Linked DNA regions of Homo sapiens: all the other regions are linked to region 1. Evidence: promoter capture Hi-C in 16 types of primary human blood cells and fetal thymus (Javierre and others, 2016). All regions are on one chromosome and are shown on one strand. The core of a region is centred on a gene start or on the middle of the fragment in contact, and the rest is flanking DNA. Distances in the headings are between cores, read along the strand shown. Region 1 holds the start of PASK (PAS domain containing serine/threonine kinase). Region 2 overlaps D2HGDH (D-2-hydroxyglutarate dehydrogenase). Region 3 overlaps ING5 (inhibitor of growth family member 5). Region 4 overlaps CAPN10 (calpain 10). Region 5 overlaps DTYMK (deoxythymidylate kinase).

Region 1 (2,739 bases), core at 82-2,581:
CACGGGAACCCAAACCCAGCAGACAGCACCTAATGGTGCCACCGAGTAACCATATTCCCATTGCTAGTTTTGATTCCAGAAGACACAAGTGACCCCACCTCAGACCAAACAGAAGCAAGGACAACTTTGCAGGGAGCATCTCGGCGAACTTCTAGAAGCAACTGTCCCCCTCCCACCAGAACATAAGCTAAGAAGCAAACAGCTCCCATTGCTGTCAGCACAGCTGTACAACAAAAAGGAGAACCAGTTTCAGGATGAGGCCAACAAGGTGAACAGTGCAGTAGAACACAGCAAGGATGTCAGTCCTGGAGGAGGCACCTGCAGAGCCGGGCCCTACCAAGCAGAGTGAAGAAGTCTTTCAGAGGCAAAGCCTCCCAGAGAGGAGTTCAGTACCCAGAAGAGTAGGTGGACGTGGGCCTGGAAGGGCCAAGCATGAGCCCAGAGCCTCCTATGCCTGCCCAAAGTCTTAATTTTATCCCCAAAATGAACTTTTAAGGATTCAATGCTTAGGAGTAACATGGCCAGATATGCATTTTACAAAGATTACTCCAGGGACCATGTCGGTGCAAGGCTGGAAAGCAGGAGAAAGGCTACAGTAATCCAGGCAAGAAATTATAAAGTCTTAAATTAAGGTAGCAGCAGAAAGATGAAGAGAGGGAACCCCTAAGAGAAAAATGGACATCGAATGGTACTGAGATGCGGAAGGTAAGGACGAGAAAGGCCTCAAGACGGCAGCGCAGGCCCCTGCCGTACTCTGGGAAAGAAAAATTAGTGAAAAAATTAAGGCTCAAGTCCAGGTCTTTGCTGTAACCACGAGCGCCGGCGGCGCGCGCCCCCGACCCCGCGGCGCCGGCTGAGCCCGCAGGGACCCACACGCCCAGTGCAGGAGGCTGGCGGGATCCGGGCTGGTTCTCCTGGAGCTCGCCCCGCAGGGCCGGCTGCGGTGAAGAGAGCGCAGGGTCCCGAGGCGACCCGAGGCGCGGGGCCTCGGCGCCCACCGGGCAGGCTACACTGAAGGGCACCCCGAAGACGCTGGGGGCGCGGGGCCCAGGGCCAACGGCCGCAACCCCGCCGCGATTTGGGCACGGAGAGGACGCGGGCTCGGCGGTGCGCGAAGGGCGACGGGCGCAGGGGCGGGAGACCCGGGGTCGGGCTGGTCTAAGAGTCGGGCGGCGGATCCTCCTGGGCCAGGGGCGCGGAGCCGCGCAGGCCCCACAGCCGCCCTGGGGAGATGGCGGAGCCCGGCCCGCTCTCCCGAGCGCAGGTATCTCACCTGGATCAGGCGAGGGTCACGCCAAGCCGGCTACACACCACGGAAAGGAGCCCTTCCGCGCTTTTATCCCACCGACCAATCGCACAGCGACTAGCACCGATTGACAAGCTCCACGGACCAGCCACTTGCGCGTATGGGCGGGACTAAGCTAGCCAGAGTCTAGAAGCCCGCGCTAAGGGTTGCTAGGGACGCACCAAACACCCCTACGGCGCTTCGGAGGAGCCAAAGGAATAATGGGCGCCTCCGCCCCCGGGCCGGGCAGATGCGGTTTCCTCCCGACTCGCGATCAAAATGGGTGAGTAGCGCAGAGCTCGCCTCTTGGAGGCCTCTTTCTGAAGGCGGAGGACGCGGGGCGGCTCGTTCATGGGCCGGGTGGCTCCGCAGGGTAGACGAAGGCTGCAGCGTCCGCACTGGGCTGGGAACGACTTGCAAGGGGAGCCCAGCTGGCGCCCCGGAGCCAGCCAGCTGGCTAGCGGCCCCACCAGCGCAAGTGCCCCGCACCTGCCCGCCTGCTCCGAGCGTCAAGAGAAGGCGGCATTTCGCATGGGTAAAATCCGCGCGGGGACGCCGGGAGAATGTTGTTGCTCTTGCCGTTCGGCCCATTGTACAGACGCAGCCAGCGAGGCTCGCAGAGGTCAGGGATGCACGTAGGACTGGCCCGCACCTTGCAGCCACGGAAAGATCCGCCTGGCCCGCGGCCCCTCCACGCCTCCGAGGTCGAGACAGTGACATAAGTCAACTCTCAAGCCCAGGGCGTCTCTCCACTCTGCCTAGACGTCCACTCCGTCTGCCTGCAGCTACGGCTCTGTGCGTCCCGCTTCGACTCCCTCTGCTTTCCTTCCCAGCTTCTCGCCTCCAGACTGTTCCGGCTCCGCCGCCTGAAATTACCTGCTCTGGGGGAGGCGCGGCGCGCGGCCTCATGACGGAACTACAACTCCCATGAGGCGCTGGGCCCACGCAGGCGCGGCGCGGCTGAAGTCGCCGCGCCGGAATCCCATTGGCAGGGCCGGCTCTGAGGCGGGAGCCCTGATTGGCTGAGGGGTCTGAGGCGACAGATTCCGGAAAGGGGAAGAGCAGCCAACATGGCGGCGGAACGCGGCGCGGGGCAGCAACAGTCGCAGGAGATGATGGAGGGTGAGCGGCCCCTGCGGGCGGCGGCCCAAGGGCCCAGCGGGCGGGGGGAGCTGCGGGCTGGAACTGCTCCGTGCCTGAGAGAAACTCCACGTCCTGCCTCTGGCCGCCGCCGCGCGGCCCCCTGACAGCTGACAGCCGGACCCGGGGGAGCGGGGGAGGCGCTGGACCTCGGGGGAGCCCCGGCCCGGGGGCGGCAGCGGCCGGGAAGGACCCAGAGCTAGGGGGAGAGCGGCGGCGCGAGGCCAGGCCGGGGGTGGGGCTGAATGGGACGCGGTGGCTCCATTCAGTCCAGTTGGAGCCTCGCCCCGAGCCTCTGAGATTGACGGGCGGGG
Region 2 (2,739 bases), core at 240-2,739, 590 kb after region 1:
AGTCGGGCCCCAGTCCTGGCTCAGCACTGCTGTCTGGGTGGCCCTAGGCAGATGACCCTCAGTGCCTGCCCTACAAAATGGGACTTGGAGCCACTGCCTCAGGAACACCGTGCGGGTAAGTGGGGCAGGAACCTAGCGTGAGCCTTGAGCACAATGCTTGGGTTCCCGTGCTCCCAGCCTGCTCGGAGGCCAGCACCCTGGGCTATGCCGCTGCTGCCCTCATGGGCAAGGGACCTCCCCGGGGCATGCAGGAGCGGGGAGGAAGCTGTAACTGAGATTGAGGGGTGACCACGCTCTTCCTCTCCTCTGCCTTGCCTGAGCCTGACTGGGCAAGAACTGGCTGTCCCCCTGGGTCCCCGCTCTCTGGTCAGCACCTTTTTGGGAATCCGTGGCCATGGACACCCTGTCCTGCTGCAGGGCCGCCCCTCGGTGTCTGTGTGTGCCTGTGGGAGGGCGCCTTCCTCTGCGTCCTGCTGCCCCGAGTTTGGTGAGGGCGAGGCTGAATTTCACTCATGTTTGAGTCCACAGGTTTGGTCCTGAATGTCTGCTCAGTAGGTGTTTGCTGATGTGAGGCTTAGTTGTTGAATTTTAGGTGAATTATCCCTTCATGTGGCTTGCTTTTGGAGAGAGAGCTTGTCTAGACTTCTGAAAACTCATTAAGCATCATATTCAAAAATCTAGACCATTTGCTCAGGATGGATGCTGCAGACGTTTAGTGAGCACGCCTGCACTGGCAGGAAGGTGGGAGCTTCGCGGTGTGAAAACAGGCTGGGCCCCTGTGTCACCTCTGGCGGCCTTGCCCCCATGGCCCCCTCCGTCTTTGTGGGGCTCCCATCGTTAACACTGGACCACCGGGAGGGAGCCCTCCTTTTCATCTTTCCCGTTAGAAGGTAAACATCACAGGAGTGGGAAATTCTGTGCTCATTCTGTGTCTGGAACGCGGCCTGGCCTGCATTCTTGGGGGGTACTCATGTTTGTGTTGAGAACCCTGCCACAGGCGCGTCACAAGTGTGTCCGAGTCGAAAGCTTTGCCATGAGTCCTGGGGCTCCTGAGCCCACTCGGGACAGGGACGCAGTGAGCGCAGGTGCCAGGGTTCCCTCAGGTGCCGCACTGAAGTGTCGGGCCGAGGCCCAGGTGCCCAGCAGGCCCCTCTGCAAAAATTGCTCATTTGATGAAAGAGACATAAGTGGCTTTCTGATCAGAAAAGCAAGGTGGACACCACAGCCTGGTTCTCAGAGCTCCACGAAGAGGTGACAGGCTCCCGTGACTGCACCTGCTGCCTCTCTGCAGCCCCCATCACCTGGGAAAGTCGTCTCAAGGAAACCCAAAGGCAGAAAGACGCCTGCTCACTTGGGGCAGCAGTGGTTAGCAACACCGGCGAACTAGCTCAGAGGGCTCCCACTGGTCACATCCAGGCATTCAGCAAATAAGGCGGCCAAGACTTATAGCCCAGTGAATAAAGTGAGAAGCCGAGAGCCCACATCACTGTGAATAAGCAGCTACATAAACACGTCAGTGAGAGCGAAGGGAAAGCCCTCCCTCGTGGCAGAGTCAGCTAAGAGGCCGGGCGCGGCGACTCATGCCTGTAACCACAGCCCTTAGGGAGGCTGAGGTGGGTGGATTGCTTGAGGCCATGAGTTCAAGATCAGACTGGGGAACATGGTGAAACCCTGTTTCTACTAAAAATATCAAAATTAGCCGGGCATGGTGGCAGGCACCTGTAGTCCCAGCTGCTTGGGAGGCTGAAGCAGGAGGATCGCTTGAGCTCAGGAGGTTGAGGCTGCAGTGAGCTGTGATTGTGTCACTGTACTCCAGACTGGGTGACGGAGTGAGACCCTGTTTCAAAAGAAATAAAAGGAAGTGTAGGTGGACAGATGGATTTAGGAAAATCACCAGTTGGCAACCATCCTAGTAACTGATTTGGTCTAGGATAATCAAAGATGTTAATGGGTGAAGCTTGAGGAGCAACAGGATGTCCACATAGTCTCAAGCGTCTGCTTGTGAGGTGCACACACATCACGAAAGGAAGTGTGGTGGCGTGGCAGGAGGGAAGCCTGCAGACATCCCGTTACCGTGGGACCGAGCCGACCTCACCACAAGTGGGTGGGCAACCTTGGAGCTGCCAATGCCTGGCCTGTGGGACTCTCATCCATGGGCCCAGCCTTACCCACTTCTGCACACTGTGCCCAGTGCCCGGCCCACCACCTCCCATGTGGGACCTAGTTTTGGTTTTTTTGAGATGGCTTCTTGCTCTGTCACCCAGGCTGGAGTGCAGTGTTGCGATCATAGCTCACTGCAGCCTTGACCTCCTGGACTCAGATGATTCTCCCTCCTCAGCTTCCCAAATAAGATCACTCTCTGGGGGCTGGGCATGGTGGCTCATGCCTGTAATCCCAGCACTTTGGGAGGCCGCAGTGGGCGGATCACGAGGTCAGGAGTTCGAGACCAGCCTGGCCAATGTGGTGAAACCCTGTCTCTACTAAAAATACAAAAATTAGCCAGGTGTGGTGGCGGGTGCCTATAATCCCAGCTACTTGGGAGGCTGAGGCAGGAGAATCGCTTGAACCTGGGAGGGAGAGGTTGCAGTGAGCCAGGATCGTGGCACTTCAGCCTGGGCAACAGAGTGAGAGTCCGTCTCCAAAAAAAAAAACTCGCTCTCTGGGGCGAGTGACCACTTGCCTCATCTGCAGCTCCCCCCACGCTGTCTCATAGGATCTTCTTCCTGTCACAGGCTGTAG
Region 3 (2,739 bases), core at 128-2,627, 570 kb after region 1:
CTGACAGTTGGGGTCACCCTGGCCTGTGCAAGGGACAGGGCTCCCCATGGCCTCCTGGTTGCCTCCCTCAGGGCTGATAGCAGCACTCCCTGGCCACACGCCATGGCGCTCCCTCAGGCGAGACTGAGAGGCCAGTGAGGCCTGCACGGTGGCCTCAGCTTCTGGGGTGCCCTTGCTGGGCGGTCCCCTCAGGCCCCCGGCCCTCTCCCACAGCCATCAAATCTGGCCAGCGCCCTCGAACCTGGTGATGCTGAGACACAGGTCAAGTGGCAGCTCAAGATGTCAGGTCGGGCTTTGTGGACAGAATTGGACTCGGCGCAGAAGAGGAGGGCGTCAGCGTTTCGGGGACGGTTGGCAGCAGAGGGTGCTGCCCTGCTCTCCGCGGGTGAGAGGTGACTCGAGGAGACCGCAGGAGCCCCTTGGAGGTGAAGCCACAGGTGGCATCCCGGAATCGGCAGGAGGCTGAGACGTAGACCCTTGCGTGCTGCTGTCAGAGGAGAGACCCGAAGACTACTTGAGACTGTTGCTTGAAAGCAGTGTCGGCAGCACCTGGACCTGGACTTGTGACGCTGATGGATTTCAGCTCTAAAGAGAAACCCCTGTCTATTCCCAGACAGAGAGAAAGAGCAGAAGAGCAGATTACCTGCAAAGGACAGACTTAGGTGGGCGCCCCTGTGCCAGAGGGCAGCGGGGAGGCCGGGTGCATGCTGAGCCCGAGTGTGTGTGTATGTGTACAGGCAATTGCAAAGGCGTAGAAAAGCTTTAGACAGGTATCCAAGGAAAAGCTGAGTGTTGATTCCCTCTGGGACCCAGACTTCTGCTCCTTGGCTTTCCCTGATCGTGACTGTTTTTCTCACGGCCACGTTCCTCCTGCTAACCTGCTGTGTTTACATACCAACTAGATATTCGTGGGTTGGAGGGTGGGATAGGGAAGATACTTTTTCTTTCTGTACTAATGGGAATACACTGTCTATAGTACCTGCAGCTTGTAAGTTTATTTGAAAAATACTGAAATATAAAAGCGTAAATTTCCCCCTAAGTGCATCCCTTTCAAACAGGAAAGTCTCCACCTGAGGTCTGTGGTCCTGGTGGGACGGCCATGGTGCTACAGGTGGCAGGCTTGGAGGGAGGCATAGACGGGGTGGAACACCTGCCAGGCTGCTGTGTAGAAACCCACGTGGGAGCTGATGGGGATGAAGGAGTGACAAGGATGGTGTGTGGTCGGAAGGGGCCCTGTGCCAGGTGGACAGCTGGGTGGGTGGTGGGCGGTCCAGGGAGTGTGTGGGGAGCTGCTGGTTGAGTCAGTATTGGGGCAGAGGTGCCTGAGTAGGTGCGTGGAGGGCCCGGGCGCAGGACGCATGGCTGTTCTCTTGGGAGGAGGTCACAGTTACGGGAGAGCTGTTGACTGTGCGGGCTGCTCTGACACCTGTCAGTCTGGAGTGGGAGGCTGGCAGGCTTCTCTCAGGTGTCAGCCGTCTGCTGGCAGAGGTGACGTGTGCTTGTTTCCAAAGGGGCCGGGGTCTTTGGAGGGATGGCCCAGAAGTGGGTTGAGTCCAGAGGTCCCCGGGGGAGTCCTGTCTGGGAGGAGGGACCGAGATGAGAGTGGACTCGTCCCCAGAGTGGGACCAGAACCCCGGTGCTGTGGGTGAGTGCTGCGCTTCACGGCCTCCTGGGGGCCCTCTGTGCCCCCATGCCCCTGCCTGGGCCCGAAGGTGGGCGCGAGGTCTCCACCCCTCTGCTGCCAGCTGCTGCTGTTCCTGGATTTTTGTGGGTAACTGTTCTTTCTAGCATCAGCTGACAATCTGTTCGTATACTTAATGATTTTCTTGCTGCGCCTTCTTAGAACATTGCGTGTTCAGAGGGGTTATTGAGGTTTTGAAAATGTGTGCTCCAGGAAGAAAACGTCCACAAGGTGTGTATTCAGTTAGTGCATGACTGCAGTGGCTGGCCCTGGAGTCGCATTCATTTCTAAAGGACAATGGGAAAAATGGAAGCAAGCTTATTCATTATGTGTCGCTCAGAGCACGGTACCAATTTCCCCCTTGGAATGATTGTCTTCACAGTTTTGGGGTGAGGGGGCCTTAAGTCAGAGACAGAAGGGCCCGTGGTGTCCGTGCCGCCTCACTTCCCACCATGGCCTTCAGTGGTGCCTGTGCCCTGTCCCCTGCAGGTCTGAGTTCACTGACACCATCCTGTCCGTGCACCCCTCTGATGTGCTGGACATGCCCGTGGACCCAAACGAACCCACGTACTGCCTGTGCCACCAGGTCTCCTATGGGGAGATGATTGGCTGTGACAATCCAGACGTGAGTGTCGCCTGCAGGATTCGCGCCATGGGGCGGGGTCTTGTGTGGGGCAGGGCTGGCGGATGTTGGCATTTCTTGTGTTTTGCATACAGAACATGAGGCGTGTTGACTGCGGTTTCTCCCTTTACTTTGCAGTGTCCAATTGAGTGGTTTCACTTTGCCTGCGTGGACCTTACCACGAAACCCAAAGGAAAATGGTGAGTGTGGGGACGCTCGCTCTGTTTTCTCCCAGTCTGCTGGGTGTTGCGCTGCTGGCCTCCCCAGGAGAAGGTGCTCCATGGCAGAATCTTGCCGGGCTTAGCGGGACACGGTAGCCACGTAGGCATGCCCCACTGTGGCCTCAAGGAGTGTGGCTGGCTGGTGGCTGCTCTGGGTGTGGCTTTATCCCCCCTTTGCTGCTGTGCCTGTCCGAGCTGGCAGAGGGATGCCGTCA
Region 4 (2,739 bases), core at 61-2,560, 550 kb before region 1:
CGGGCTCGGGCAGCAGTCCTGGGAAGACGCATCCAGAGGCGTGAAGTTCCTCTGGGAAAAGAGAGGGCTCCAGGGTGGCCGCTGCCCAGAAGGCCCTGTGCTGCAGAGCTGCTTCGGGTGTGGGAGGGGCTGCAGAGCTGGGGCACGGGGTTGCTGGCAGGAACTCAGGGCTCTCTGGGTCCCCTCCAGGCTTCCCCCCAGCCTGCCGGCAAGTTGACACTACCAGTTCTCGGGAGGGGCTTCTGCTGAGATGAGGTTTCTTCCAGGGGTGAAGGGTGGAGCCAGGTAGATGCAGCGGTAGCATCTGAGCTCCTGTCCCAGCTCCAGGAAGGGGAGTTCTGGGTGGAGGAGGAGGAGTTCCTCAGGGAGTTTGACGAGCTCACCGTTGGCTACCCGGTCACGGAGGCCGGCCACCTGCAGAGCCTCTACACAGGTAGTGCCCCGAGGGGCTGTGCTGGGCACGTGCTCTGCCTGCCGAAGTGAGGAGGCTGGGCAGGTGCCTGGGTTCCCCCTGCCCAGGCCCAGTTTGGTTCTCTTCAGCGTGGAGAGATGATTCTGTCCCAGGAGCCGGGAGGAGGGTGATGATTCTGTCCCAGGAGCTGGGAGGAGGGTGGGCTTGTGGGAGGGGCTGGCTCTGTCTGTGGCCGTAGCTGCTGCTTAGACCCTGCCAGGGTTCATGAGGCCACCATGGCGGGAGGCCAGCGAGGAGCCGTGTCCCACAGCTGATGCCTGGTGTTTTCTCACTAGAGAGGCTGCTCTGCCATACGCGGGCGCTGCCTGGGGCCTGGGTCAAGGGCCAGTCAGCAGGAGGCTGCCGGAACAACAGCGGCTTTCCCAGCAACCCCAAATTCTGGCTGCGGGTCTCAGAACCGAGTGAGGTGTACATTGCCGTCCTGCAGAGATCCAGGCTGCACGCGGCGGACTGGGCAGGCCGGGCCCGGGCACTGGTGGGTGACAGTCATACTTCGTGGAGCCCAGCGAGCATCCCGGGCAAGCACTACCAGGCTGTGGGTCTGCACCTCTGGAAGGTAACTCAGCCCCGTCTGGCTCACGCTCGGTTCAGCAGGTGGTGTGGAGGCCCATGGAGGTCTGGGTTCTAGGACTGGCTCTGCCGGGACACATGTGACTCTGCCACGGGCCCCACCAGTCTCCCCCCTCCTTGGGCTGTTGCACGGGGTTGACGTCTGCTGGTGCTCCCAGACCCGGCTCTGACCTGAGACTGCAGGTCTTTCTGCCTTGCCGTGTGCCTCATTGGCCAAAGGAAAGCAACAGAGTCTGCAGCCAGGGCAGGACCCGCAGGAGGGGCCTGGACCCGGGGGGCTCCTGGCAGCGCCGTGCCTTTCTGAGGCAAGGAGGTAGAGCCAGCGGCTGAGGACCTGTCAGGGCCAGTCCCAGCTCTGCAGCTTGCTGTGTGACCTGGCACACATCCTCTCCCTGCCTCCCTCAGTCTCTTCCCCTGCAAGACGGGGTCCTGACACGGATCTCATGGGATTGCTCTGAGGCCCAGGCAGTCCCAGGCTCAACCACTGGTTCACAAAGTGTGTTGTTTCCAGGAAGAACAGATGGGGGCGCCTGAGGGCAAAGGGCCTGAGTGTGGGTCGAGGATATGCCGGCTGCTCGCTCAGGGGCTGGGTTTTCATCTTGTGTGTCTTGACAGGGTGTGACACTTGGCACCACACTGTTCCCTGTCCCTTCATGGATGTGGCCCACATGATGTTCCTTTCCTCTTGCAAAAGAAGTTGCTGGAAGGCCCACTGTCCAGCAGCCCCCAGGTTGCCTGGGCCACGGTGCCTTTGTGGGCCCAGCTACAAGGAGGACTTGCAGGCTCGTGTCTGGGACAGATACTGGCGCCAGGGCCAAGTGAAGCCCGGGATTGGTGGGCATCTCTAGCTGGTCCCTGAGAGAGGGTGGAGGGTGCTGACAGGCCTTGGCGCTTTCATCTGTCAACTCCAGAGGCCCTTGTGCTTGCAGCAGGGAGGTCAAGGCCAGGGCGTCTGACCCCGGCCGCTCCTCCACACTGAGCCTCCTGCACGTGCTCACAGGTAGAGAAGCGGCGGGTCAATCTGCCTAGGGTCCTGTCCATGCCCCCCGTGGCTGGCACCGCGTGCCATGCATACGACCGGGAGGTCCACCTGCGTTGTGAGCTCTCACCGGGCTACTACCTGGCTGTCCCCAGCACCTTCCTGAAGGACGCGCCAGGGGAGTTCCTGCTCCGAGTCTTCTCTACCGGGCGAGTCTCCCTTAGGTGAGAGGAACCGCGCAGTGCTGCTGGCTCTCCGAGGCCACAGGCCCTTCCAAGGCAGGATTTGGGCACTTTCCCTCTGTGGTTGGCAGGTGTCCATGTGGGAACTGAGGCCACCGGGAACCTGCTGCCAGCGCCCTCCCATGTTTGTCTTCTTGGCAGCGCCATCAGGGCAGTGGCCAAGAACACCACCCCCGGGGCAGCCCTGCCTGCGGGGGAGTGGGGGACCGTGCAGCTACGGGGTTCTTGGAGAGTCGGCCAGACGGCGGGGGGCAGCAGGAACTTTGCCTCATACCCCACCAACCCCTGCTTCCCCTTCTCGGTCCCCGAGGGCCCTGGCCCCCGCTGCGTCCGCATCACTCTGCATCAGCACTGCCGGCCCAGTGACACCGAGTTCCACCCCATCGGCTTCCATATCTTCCAGGCAAGCTCCTTGCCCCAGGGAGGGAGGGGGAGCAGAAGGGGCCCTCAGAGAATTTGCATCTTGGCCTCCATTG
Region 5 (2,739 bases), core at 145-2,644, 530 kb after region 1:
TGATGGCACGTGCCTGTAATCCCAGCTACTCGGGAGGCTGAGGCAGGAGAATCACTTGAACCCAAGAAGCGGAGGTTGCAGTGAGCTGAGATCGTGCCATTGCACTCCAGCCTGGGTTGGCACCCAGAGCAAGATTCTGTCTCAAAAAAAAAAGAATTTGCTGGCACCGAGAACCCCTGAACGACTACTCCCGGGGCTCCACATCTGGGAGGACCAGACGGAAACGGCAGCAGCTTTGCTGACACAACTGTGCCAGCCACCACGGTGTCATCCTGAGCCACTTCTCCACGCTTCCTAGTGTGCAATTCTGGGATTCTCACCTTCCAGTTCAAAGTCGTGTCTTTCATGAGCTGGTGGAAACACCGGAGCGCCCGCTCCTGGAAAGCCCCGTTCTCATAGCGCTCATGGCCAAACGCTCCCCGCTTGGCAGCATCCGCCAGCTGTAACTGGAGGAACAGGACCAGGTCGGGTTTGGGAAGGCCCACGTCTGGCTGTTTACACCAATCTAGGGAAAAATTCTGCCAAGAAAGAACCCAACAGTTAAAGCTTAGTGTAGTCTAGGTTTTTGTTTCGAAAGTCGTAAAAACAGGAAAAAATGAGGGGACATTTGGTGAGGTACCAAGATGTGAGACTGTTTATATTGTGGCTCGTTTAATTTTTAGAACCTCAAACGTGTCGGTTTCTCCAGTGTCACCTTTGTTTTTCCTTTGTAAACAGACAAGTGGACAGAAAAGTAGGTAGATAGAACGGCTGCCAGTCCCCGCCACCCACAGCCCAGGCCCCATGGAGGCCCTCCCAGCACAGCTACAGGCCTGCTGGCCAGGAGCAAACAGTCTATGTACAGAACCCCTGGAGACCCCCGGCCTAGAACGCCTGCAGCACAGAGCAGCTGGGTCCGGACACAGGCACGAGGTCCTTGGCAGTGTCTTTTCTGCCACACACACGCCAGGGTCTCCTCTCCCGTGGAAGAGCAGGAAGAAGACAGGCACTCCTAGAGCCTGTTATGTGCCAGCCTAGTCTCATCCACTGGCCCTTCTTGCCAGGGCTGTGCCAGCACCCTCTCTCCCTCCCTTACTCATCCCATCTCCCTCCAAATGCTGTCCTGTTTCCGGAGGAAAGGTAGGACCAGAAAGGCTGTGACTGCAGGCCACACATCACACAACAGCACAATGAGCTGAGGGAAGGCGTCCACGAGAACCTCCCACAGAGCCTGCGGCTCTGTCAGCTGATCCGCACAGCAGGAAGAAGCAAAGGAATCATGAGTCTTGTCCTCCTTATTATACAACGTAATACTTCAGAGGGGAAGGACTCAAGCTAACACATGAAGAAATGGCAGAATTAAAAAGTGAGGGCGTGGCCGGGCACGGTGGCTCGCGCCTGTAATCCCAGCACTTTGGGAGGCTGAAGCGGGAGGATCACTTGGGCCCAAGAGTTGTTATAGCGAGCTTTGCTTGTTCCACTGTACTCCAGCCTGGGCAACAGAGGGAGACGCCCTCTTTCAAAAAACGGGGGAAAAAAGTACTACAAATGAACCATCTTTGAAAATGCATCTGGAGGCTGGGTGCAGTGGCTCATGCCTGTAATCCTAGCACTTTGGGAGGCTGAGATGAGTGGATCACTTGAGGTCAGGAGTTTGAGACCAGCCTGGCCAACATGGTAAAACCCCGTCTCTACTAAAAGTATGAAAATTAGCTGGGCACGGTGGTGCATGCCTATAATCCCAGATACTCGGGAGACTGAGGCAGGATAATCGCTTGAACTCAGGAGGCAGAGGTTGCAATGAGCTGAGATCGTGCCACTGCACTCCAGCCTGGGTGACAGAATGAGAGACTGTCTCCCCAAAAAAAAAAAAAAAAGCGTGTGGAAAATATAATCCAAATACCAACTATGGTTCTATCTGTGAAACAATCTCTAGCTACATAAATGTTTGCTCTTCTTATTGATAAAACCAAATTAATCTAGCAAAGAGATAAAAGGAATATAAGAATCACGAAACTCTGCAGAGTAATCTGAGGCATGTCACTCGTACTCGCATTCAAGGGCAGTCCTGGGTCCACACATCTGTGCTCGCCTGACAGGAGGCCAAGTGGCACTCACCTCCTTGGCACCGGTGAAGGCCACACCAGAAAATGCGTATCTGTCCACGACGAGGGTCACGCCCTGGCTCAACTTTTCCTTAATTAACGGCCTGAAAAAGAGGATGCTCCTGAGCCCTGGTCCTGTTTCATAGGCCTTGAACTGTCAAGCTTAAATTATCCCAACAGGCTGTGCGCAGTGGCTCACCCCTATAATCCCAGCGCTTTGGGAGGCTGAGGCGGGCGGATCACAAGGTCAGGAGATCGAGACCATCCTGGCTAACATGGTGAAACCCTGTCTCTACTAATACAAAATATTAGCTGGACATGGTGGCAGGCACCTGTAATCCCAGCTACTCGGGAGGCTGAGGCAGGAGAATTGCTTGAACCCAGGAGGTGGAGGTTGCAGTGAGCCGAGATCACACCACTGCATTCCAGCCTGGGTGACACAGCGAGACTCCATCTCAAAAAAAGAAAAAGAAAATTATCCCAACAATACAACTCAGAAATCTCATATGACAACAAGTACAGCACAGTGATTTGTAACCTTACTTTTAATCCAAAAAGGTCTGGATCTTCTCTAGAAGATGCCATACCCACACCTCCAGCAAAACCCAACATGGAGAAGATAACCTTACTAAATAGTAACAAACACAACTGGTAA

Evidence for each region. The method cuts DNA at HindIII sites, captures the fragments that hold promoters and counts their contacts. A CHiCAGO score of 5 or more calls a contact.
Region 2: a contact is called between a fragment that was not itself captured here and the fragment with the promoter of PASK in region 1, in 1 of 17 cell types (neutrophils). The highest score is 6.0, in neutrophils.
Region 3: a fragment that was not itself captured here is called in contact with the fragment with the promoter of PASK in region 1 in 1 of 17 cell types (neutrophils); the score reaches 7.0 in neutrophils.
Region 4: a fragment that was not itself captured here is called in contact with the fragment with the promoter of PASK in region 1 in 1 of 17 cell types (neutrophils); the score reaches 5.2 in neutrophils.
Region 5: a fragment that was not itself captured here is called in contact with the fragment with the promoter of PASK in region 1 in 1 of 17 cell types (neutrophils); the score reaches 7.1 in neutrophils.

The regions. Positions count from the first base shown.
Region 1 is chr2:241,148,141-241,150,879 of GRCh38, forward strand. PASK (PAS domain containing serine/threonine kinase) reads right to left here and starts at 1,332. Exons shown (of 18, transcript NM_015148.4): 1 at 1,274-1,332. PPP1R7 (protein phosphatase 1 regulatory subunit 7) reads left to right here and starts at 2,327. Exons shown (of 10, transcript NM_002712.3): 1 at 2,327-2,407. The coding sequence starts at 2,356. RefSeq lists enhancers at 286-445, 1,959-2,118 and silencers at 699-748, 799-858, 919-1,278, 2,409-2,739. The HindIII fragment of the contact is 12,026 bases long and covers 1-2,739 here.
Region 2 is chr2:241,738,301-241,741,039 of GRCh38, forward strand. D2HGDH (D-2-hydroxyglutarate dehydrogenase) reads left to right here. Exons shown (of 10, transcript NM_152783.5): 3 at 2,733-2,739. Among named protein-coding and RNA genes, the nearest start is that of D2HGDH, 5.0 kb to the left of the region's middle. RefSeq lists an enhancer at 1,246-1,345. The HindIII fragment of the contact is 931 bases long and covers 1,025-1,955 here.
Region 3 is chr2:241,720,769-241,723,507 of GRCh38, forward strand. ING5 (inhibitor of growth family member 5) reads left to right here. Exons shown (of 8, transcript NM_032329.6): 6 at 2,171-2,306; 7 at 2,442-2,503. Among named protein-coding and RNA genes, the nearest start is that of D2HGDH, 12 kb to the right of the region's middle. The HindIII fragment of the contact is 1,238 bases long and covers 759-1,996 here.
Region 4 is chr2:240,594,277-240,597,015 of GRCh38, forward strand. CAPN10 (calpain 10) reads left to right here. Exons shown (of 12, transcript NM_023083.4): 6 at 267-433; 7 at 748-1,028; 8 at 2,043-2,245; 9 at 2,405-2,666. Among named protein-coding and RNA genes, the nearest start is that of CAPN10, 8.9 kb to the left of the region's middle. The HindIII fragment of the contact is 6,622 bases long and covers 1-2,739 here.
Region 5 is chr2:241,678,132-241,680,870 of GRCh38, forward strand. DTYMK (deoxythymidylate kinase) reads right to left here. Exons shown (of 5, transcript NM_012145.4): 3 at 2,098-2,188; 4 at 321-518. Among named protein-coding and RNA genes, the nearest start is that of DTYMK, 7.3 kb to the right of the region's middle. The HindIII fragment of the contact is 1,700 bases long and covers 545-2,244 here.